Linked DNA regions of Homo sapiens: regions 1 and 3 are each linked to region 2. The links are contacts of gene promoters, found by promoter capture Hi-C in human tissues and cell types (Jung and others, 2019). All regions are on one chromosome and are shown on one strand. The core of a region is centred on a gene start or on the middle of the fragment in contact, and the rest is flanking DNA. Distances in the headings are between cores, read along the strand shown. Region 1 overlaps CSMD1 (CUB and Sushi multiple domains 1). Region 2 holds the start of CSMD1 (CUB and Sushi multiple domains 1). Region 3 has its middle 270 kb from the start of MCPH1-DT.

Region 1 (2,700 bases), core at 196-2,695, 1.4 Mb before region 2:
GCATTATTAATCACAATACAGCATTGTTAATTAACCACTTCATGCTATACATCAGATCCCTAGGTTTATTCATCCTATGTAACTGCAGCTTTATGCCTTTAACAACATCTCCATTTTCCTTTGAGTATCTGCTGCATGCCCAGATTGGCGCCAACCTATACCTTGCACTCCTCTCTTCTTTCACCAGGTGGTCCTTCCCGCTTGGCATGGGCAACTCCCACTTCTTTCCTCCTGTCTTTCATCAAAATCTGCTGGGAGCAACAGATCTGACAAATTCTTTCATACACAAGAAAGTGTAATGGAGTGAGATGGTTGACTACCTTCCCCTTCCAGAGGAAGCAACATTTCGGCACAGCAGGACGTCTTAAAGCAAAGTGTCGGTCTCTACAATTCATTGATGGCAAGCTCCTGGCAGCATCATTGTGAGGGCAGGGAAAATGACCACCACAAGAGGCACCTCCTCAGCTCATCACTAAGGGTAGAGCTGGTTCTGAATGCTTGCTGAACACTTAAGAAAAGTCTAGCAGGTAAAGAGAGCGAGGAATTAATTTAAGACACACACACACATAACTGCAGGTGGCATCAGCAAGCTGAAAACTGACAAACCATTGCTTCCCGAATCTTTCCAGGTATCTGTCTGTCTTTCTCCTTTTCTCCTTCTCCTCCCCATTAGTATAAATAGGAAGCTTAGGTAAAATTCCTCATAAAATTTAGAATTTGGTGCCAAAGGGCATTTAATGCTGTTGAAGGGTGGAGTGGGTGGATTTATTACCTTTAGATCCTAGTTAAATTGATAAACCATCTAACTAGCTACTCTATTTCCCCTAGAATATGAATACAGAAACTTAAGAGGTCTCTAAACCAGCAGTTCTCAGCAAGGGTCAAGTGTATCAGAATCATTCAGGGTTGATTGGAAAAGGGACGCCAAGTGTCAAAGACTACCACTCAGAGACTATGAAATGTCATCCTGGGGATAGGGTGCTCCCATTTACTCACCCAGCTTGCCAGTATATTCTCTACGATGGCAAGCAAGTATTATTGCTGGTGGCAGTGGAAAACGACTGGTGACCCCAGATGATAAGAGACAGAAAACCATTGCTCTGGTCTAAAGCGAAAGTCTGCAGGGGCGGTAATTTTACTGAGGGATCCAGGCACCCACCTCTATCCCCACTCTATCACAGGATTCAGTCATAAATAGCAGTCATTGTTCTTCCATGAATGTTTTGTAACATTCATATGCATGTTTTGCAACATTCATATGCATGTTTTGCAATATTGCAAACACAGTATTTTATTAATTAAATAAATGATTTCAATACAATAAAAAAATGGTTTTGCTATGTGATTGAAAATGTGGATAGAGAGGAAGGAATTGATTGCAATGTCAAGAAATGTAAAGAACTATTCCAAGGGGGTCTCTGTACTAATCTCTATGTGCAAGAATCAGCTATGATTGGACATTTTTCATTCATCCCGCATGATATCGTGGCAGCAAGCTTGATACCAGGTCATACATGCTAGAAACCTCCATGACTCCTGTATATCACTGCTAGATGTAGGTTTGCCTCTGGCTTCTGAGATCTACCAGTGCTGCATCATTGTGTCCGTGGGATTCCTGTTCATGGGAGCTGCTCATTGGCCTCACATCTTTATTATTTTTCCAAGAACATTATTTGATGGAGGCCAAGATTTGGTAGGATTTTTGCTGCGGGGAAACAAATCAGCTGTCCTTATTCTTCCAGCTTCTGCAGACATATAGGAGCTGTAGAAGGCAGCAGATACTGAAAGTGTTTTCCAACGATGAGGTTTCCATATACATTATCAGACGATGTTTATGCTATCAAACAGGTTTAGAAAAGCAAGCCCATCTGTATTTAGTCACCTATCTCTAATCTCATATCACGGATGACATACACCAGGCAGGCCAATGGTTACCAACCTCGCTTGCACATCAGAATCACAGCAGGCACTTATAAAAGGTCTAACATTGAGTTACCTACACTAGTCACCACAATCTACTGTAGAATAAGATGCTGCAAAATTTTCATGGCTCTGTTCAGCAGCGTCAACAAACTTTAAGGCTAATGGAAGCCTGTGAAATCATTGGTAATATGCAGAAGAGTTATCAACTATAGGAACAATATTAAAGCAGTGAACATTGAATAACAACCAGTGCATTGATTTGGGGACCATTCTCCCTGCTCCCTAATGTTTCCAATTCGTTTAAAAACTCTTCAGAATCTCAAATGATTCATTCTGTTTCCCCCTACGTCTTCACCAGAAATGTGTTGAAGCAAAGGAGAGAGTTAGTGTTCACAGATCTGCCCTAGAGAGAGAGAGGGTTATAGCACATTCTGTCTATAGTGATCACGTTCCCAGGAACAGGAAGTACAATGGTGGCTGTCGGGAGATGTGGGTAGGGGAGGATGGGAAGTTATGGCTTTATGGGTATGGAGTTTCAGTTTTGCAGGATAAAAAGAATTCTGGAGATGGATGGTGGTCATGGTTATACAACCATATGAATGTGTTAACACCATTGAACTGCACACTTAAAATGGTCAGGATGCTAAATTCTATATTATGTGGATTTTATCACAATTAAACATTCTCTTTAAAAATCTTCATGACTGGTCCATCTTCCTGACCAATTAAACCAGAACCTTCGGGGTAACTGGAGTGTGTTTAATTGCACAGTTTAGA
Region 2 (2,700 bases), core at 54-2,553:
GATACCCGTGCGCCCACAGTGAATGTATCTGACTTGGAAGCCGGTCCAGAACTCCTAGCCTGTTTCACGCACCTTGCCAACACCTTACAACTTGCAAGGAGCGAAGTCCGGGGGAGAGGAAAGCGGGGGCGACCTTCTAGAGGCAGCTACTCCTCGCCGGCTGAGGACGTTGGAGAGGGAAGGAGGAGAGGAGGAATGGGGTGTATGGGTGCGAGGAGGCCGGGCCGGCGGAGACCTTTGCCTATTGGTACCAAAACCCCCGTAGAGAGCCCGAACTTTCCAGGCCGGCTTCACCCGGGACGCTTTCCCAGGCGCGTCGGGTCCGGGGAGAAAGTCCTGGGAACTGCCCCTCAGCCACCCCGACCCGTGGAGTCCACGTCTCGGAGGAGGCAACACCGCCCCGGCGGAGCACAGTTCCAGCCCAACTCGTATTGGGTTCCTTTCTCCTTGACACCCTGTACTGCCGAGAAAAAGAGATCTCTCCTGTGAGCCCAAGAGAGGGGGAAGGAATGGCGGGGTGGGGCGGGGGCCCAGGAGGGCTGGGGAGAGCGCGATGGAAGCTCCCTCCCGTGCATCGCGTTCCCCGAGCTTCGGCGATGGAGCAGCGCCGGGCAGAGGCGGCCACTCCGTACCCTGCGGTCCCCAAAACGCACACTCGCGTCCGCACACGGGGCCTCCGAGGGCTCTACCGCCTCCCCGGCCAGGAGCAAGTCCGTCTTACCCTTCGCTGCAGTGAGGAGCCTCGCGCACAGCACCAGCAGCCCGAGAAGCAGGAGCAGCGACTGGAATCTCCTCCACGCAGTCATGTCTGCAGATACTCCACACGCACGCGACACCGATGGCTCCTCCGAGGAAGGCAGGGCTATGAGCGGAGCCAAATAATCACCCGAGGGCAAGGCGAGCCGGAGAGAGAGCCCGGTCCCAAGACCCGCCGCGCATCCGACGCCTCCTGAAGGTCTGGGCGCCCGGCTCGCTTCCCTCTCATAGCATCGGGTCCCGAGCCACTGCAGGGCTGAGCTGCTCCGAGCGCGGAGACCCGGGCTGGCGGGGCCGGGGCCGGGGACGAGCGCCGGCCGAGCCGGGCAGGAAGGCACCAAGGCGGCGAGGCTGCGGGAGGGGGAGAAGCGGGGAGAGGAGCGCGCGCAGCCAGGAGAGACCTGGAGAGGAGGCAGCTGGAGAGAGAGCCAGCGAGTGGGAGATGCGGGGAGGGGGGCGCGGGGGGGAGGAGAGATCCAGTCTAGAGAGAAAAGGCGGAGAGCGCAGAAGAAGGGCTGCTAGTGGCACAAGGAGCCGCTGCCGTGGAGGCTGGACTCAACCATCCTTACCCACAGAGAGGGGACCGAGGCTGGGCACGGCGCAGTCCCAGACAGACAGAGCCCAGCCTCGGGGCCTCGGGCTGCCCGCACCGTGCTGCGCTTCATTCGGCCTCAGCGCAGCAGCGCGCAGGCTGGAGAAAGGAGACTTGTTGGGCGCTCGGGTGGGGGAAGCTCACGCCGCACACCGGGGAGGAACAATGTAATCCGGCAACTCCAGCAAACTGGAGGGTTTCTGCAGGGGCAGAGTCCCGCCTCCATCCTTTGATCTCCCTTCCTTGCTGACCAGAGAGCAGCCCCCTACCTAACTTAGATCAGAAATGCAGGTGGAAAGGGCACAAGCTTCAACTCCAAGGGAGGAATATATTTATACATTTATATATATATATATATGATGATATGTATAATGTTTTGCAAGATGGACTATTTGCAAGGAGTTACACAAATTTACACATTTCCTGACTTTGGATTGTGTTAGATTTAGCCATGCCCAAACTTCAGCTTCAGATAAAACGTGACATGAGGAAGTCTCTAGAATTAATATTATGGTCTGGTTGTGAGAGCCGGCATGTTGGCACAGCTTCTGATGAAACTATATATAAAATTCTGTGGGTTGGGAAGGGACCTTAAAAGAGAAGAGACAGGTTCTCCCTGATTCTGCAAAAGGATGAAGCCCGCAGAGAGAGAACAGTGCTTTAGAATAGCAGTACTTGATACAGTAAACTGGATTTCACCCAGCTCCCCAAATAGAGGAGGCATTCCTGCAGTTCCTGGGGAACGTGTAAGGAGAGACATTTTAGGAGAAGGTGGTCAGTTAATAGAAACACCACGAGTGAGGGCTGGTTTCCATAGAAGGACATTTAAAGGATTCGACATCCTTGACCAAAAAGGTTTAGCCCTTTCAGAGGACAGAACGTGGAAATCCCATACCCTAGTAAGAGAGAATTAGCCTCCAGGCCTGGAACCATTAGAGTATACAACCATCTACCTGCGGTATCCCCACAGCACCGAATGCCTGTGGTGGGAGGGACAGCCCACCGCTTCATCCCACCTGCACTTCCTCTGTCAGTCTTTGAGATTAAATGGGTTGACAGTTTGATAAAGTTTTATATCCCTCCTTCAATTTTCTTAGATTGCTCCTGCCTCTGTGACCTAGTCTACCCTAGAAAGGCATAATGGATCCAGGAAGGACTGCAACCTTGGCATGGAAACACCGAAGCCTGACTTTCTTAGTCTCCCTGCAGCCTAAGGTGCAGGTGGCCACAATTGGGGCCACCTCCACAACCCTTTTCTCCTCGCAGATATATGAGATTTAAATATGGGGTGGGTGGGGAGGGAGAGAATGCGTGCTCTTGGAGTTGCAGTCCTGAACATGACTTGGATTTTC
Region 3 (2,700 bases), core at 84-2,583, 1.1 Mb after region 2:
AGTCCTGCTAGGGCACCGATGATAACATCCTAGTGGAATAAACTCCAACAGGGAAGAATGTTACGCTGATTCCCAGAGGCTGATACCAGGCATTTCATGCCACTTAAAATCTCTTGGCAAATTCATCTAATTGCAAGGCATTCTCCTTCCCTGCCCGATTCCGTAGCATCTCAGCCTGCAAACACAGACTTACTGAAATAACTACAATGTTTTAACGTGCTTTATGGAGCTACAGAATTTCCCAGTGGGTCAGTAACTGGTGTATATTGCTTTATATTTTAACAATCTTTCCACAGATTCAGAATCAGGAACCAAATGTATTCATCCTGAGGTGATTTGCTTATTGCCTGTGAATGCCTCTTAAACAAGAGCAACAATGCACTTTTCACTGAAACAGGTTTGATTTCAGCGTTCTGGCCAGCGCTTGGAAAAACCCTCCTGCTTCATTCCCAATGCATAAATCTCAGTCCTGCACTCTCCATTTCCATGAAATGAGAAGGGAAGAGGGGAGGAGCTGAGCTTCATTAACAGGTGGCTGGGTTTGGCAGGGGCATTCGGTTGCATTCTTTCATCCTCCCTTTTCCTCACTCAGTTCAAGCTGGTAATCAGGGGGGAAAATTGTTCTAAAATGCAAATGCAGTGCCTGATAGAAGGGGCTGCTGTGAGGAAGATCTCCATGAGAAACACTGCCTCTGCTAAAACAGCAGACCCCCGGTATTGCATCACTCTTCCTTTGAAAGATTCAAGACACACATAACCAGTATGTCTTCGTTAGAATAGAAGCTCTTTCAATGAAATGGTTTGGCTTTAAATCAAGAGTGGCTTTAAAACAGGACTAGATGGCCCCAAATGGAGCTGCTTCACACAACAAGGTGTGTAATAAATAAGGCATGAATGACTGATCCCAGCAGTGCTCCTACCAGCCAGGCGCTGGGTGTTTTGGAGGAGCATTTCTTTGTTAGCATACCCATAAAGCTCATAAAGTTGCCCGGCAGTTTCGCCCCTCTCTTTTTAAAATCCTGTGGGTTTTCTCTGGAGGCAGGCTGAAGTTCAGGAAACATGCATTTGGACCGAGAGTCTCTTCCACAGTCTGATGGCACGCGCCTCAGTGGCATGTCATCTTCATTTCTTTCTTCTCTTCTCTCCCCCTCCTTTGGTTAAGTCTGTCCACTATTTAACACTAAGTTTATGAAAGAGGTACTGGATCACTACGCCTTTCCTCCCTCTAGGAAACCCCTGCTCAGGCATCAGGATCCAGCCTAAACGCAGCGTTTCCCGGCTTTCCCCTCCACTGTTGACTGCCCCTAAACCAAGGAATTGAAGTCAGGAGCCACGGTGCAAGTCAGACATGTGTGTTAGTTATCGGGATGTTCGTGGGGGGGTTCCGCTGTATATGCATAACGTCTAAAATTTGAATTTGAGTTAATATGTCTCACAAGTCTCATGCAAGTGGCCATTCCTCTGACAAAGAAGGTAGTCTAAGTAGAAAGTGTGGTGGAAAACAAGGAGGATACAAACCAGATGGTGGCAGATGGAAGAGAGAAGAGGGAACAGGCCTCAGACTCCTGAGGGCAGAACCACCAAGACGGGAAGTGAGTGGATGTCGTGCATTGAGCGTGGGAGAGCCCAGGTCTCGGACTTGGACAAATGGGTAGGTGCCACAGTGATTCTCTGAGAAAAGGAACAAGGTGGAGTGGATTTGTAGAGGGAATAATGAGTTTTCTTGTATTCAAATTTTTTGGCTTTCATAGAATTCTACTTTCAAATTCTGAGAAGAATGAGGCTGTAAATCATTTCTAAAATTAAAAAATCACAATATAGAGATGGTGCGATTGTGTTTCAAAGCAACCGTTGTCTCTGCCAAGCTGGGGGAGACATTCTTTCAGAGAAGGCGCCTTCTCTGACTCCAGGGCAACTTCGTTCTCTCTCAAGTCACAATCAGGAAAGGGCAGGATTGAGAGCTGGCAGAATGCTGTTTTTGGAACTCTGTGTTACAGACACATTTCTTTCTCCACCAGCTTCCTTTGCTCTGGCTATCACAAGTGCCAGGTGTAGCCTGCTTTCTGAAACTGCAGAGATTTAAAAGAAAGACCCCGTGGCATCTTCCAAGACTGAACACTAGCTGCTCTGAATGCAGCTCTCCCTCAGTCACTCTCAGTCTTGCCCTTCAGGCACTTCAGAGAGCTCCTTCTGGAAGCATTCCATCCCTTTGTTGCTCTCGGCCAAACTTGCCAAACTCGCTTCTTGGCTTGTAAGTGTGTGCTTGTCTCTATGTAGGTGAGTCATGGCCAGCCTGGAGCTTGCCGCCCTCCCCCCGCGCCCCCCCACCACCACCACCCGCACCCCCCGACCCCCACAACTGGTAGGGTGATTGCATTTAACTCATTTCTCACCTAAGTGCAGCCACCCGTCAGGACTCCCATGAATCTACAAGCGGCTTTTCCATCACTTAGGGTACGCAGACAGATTCCTCTTAAAATGCTCCACACAGAACTCACAACGTGATGCCATGAAGTCTGTATTCTGTGATGTCATTACATGTGGAGGGAACAATGGGTGGGCTTGCTTTGTCAGAGTGGGCTTAAAAACTCGAGCTCTAAGGACTGACTCATCAAGACTTAAATCTCCAACTCTTCTGCCTGTCAGTGTGTCAACTTGGGTGGGAAACTTATTGTCTCAACATTTATTTTCTCATCTGCA

What was found. The method cuts DNA at HindIII sites, captures the fragments that hold promoters and counts their contacts. A contact is called where the count stands out against the background at its distance.
Region 1: a fragment that was not itself captured here is called in contact with the fragment with the promoter of CSMD1 in region 2 in 1 of the 25 tissues and cell types used here (dorsolateral prefrontal cortex).
Region 3: a contact is called between a fragment that was not itself captured here and the fragment with the promoter of CSMD1 in region 2, in 1 of the 25 tissues and cell types used here (dorsolateral prefrontal cortex).

The regions. Positions count from the first base shown.
Region 1 is chr8:3,599,573-3,602,272 of GRCh38, forward strand. All of the region lies in intron 8 of CSMD1 (CUB and Sushi multiple domains 1), which reads right to left. Among named protein-coding and RNA genes, the nearest start is that of LINC03021, 870 kb to the left of the region's middle. The HindIII fragment of the contact is 6,155 bases long and covers 1-2,700 here.
Region 2 is chr8:4,993,611-4,996,310 of GRCh38, forward strand. CSMD1 (CUB and Sushi multiple domains 1) reads right to left here and starts at 1,304. Exons shown (of 70, transcript NM_033225.6): 1 at 722-1,304. The coding sequence starts at 806. The HindIII fragment of the contact is 12,651 bases long and covers 1-2,700 here.
Region 3 is chr8:6,134,229-6,136,928 of GRCh38, forward strand. No RefSeq gene overlaps it. Among named protein-coding and RNA genes, the nearest start is that of MCPH1-DT, 270 kb to the right of the region's middle. The HindIII fragment of the contact is 5,310 bases long and covers 1-2,700 here.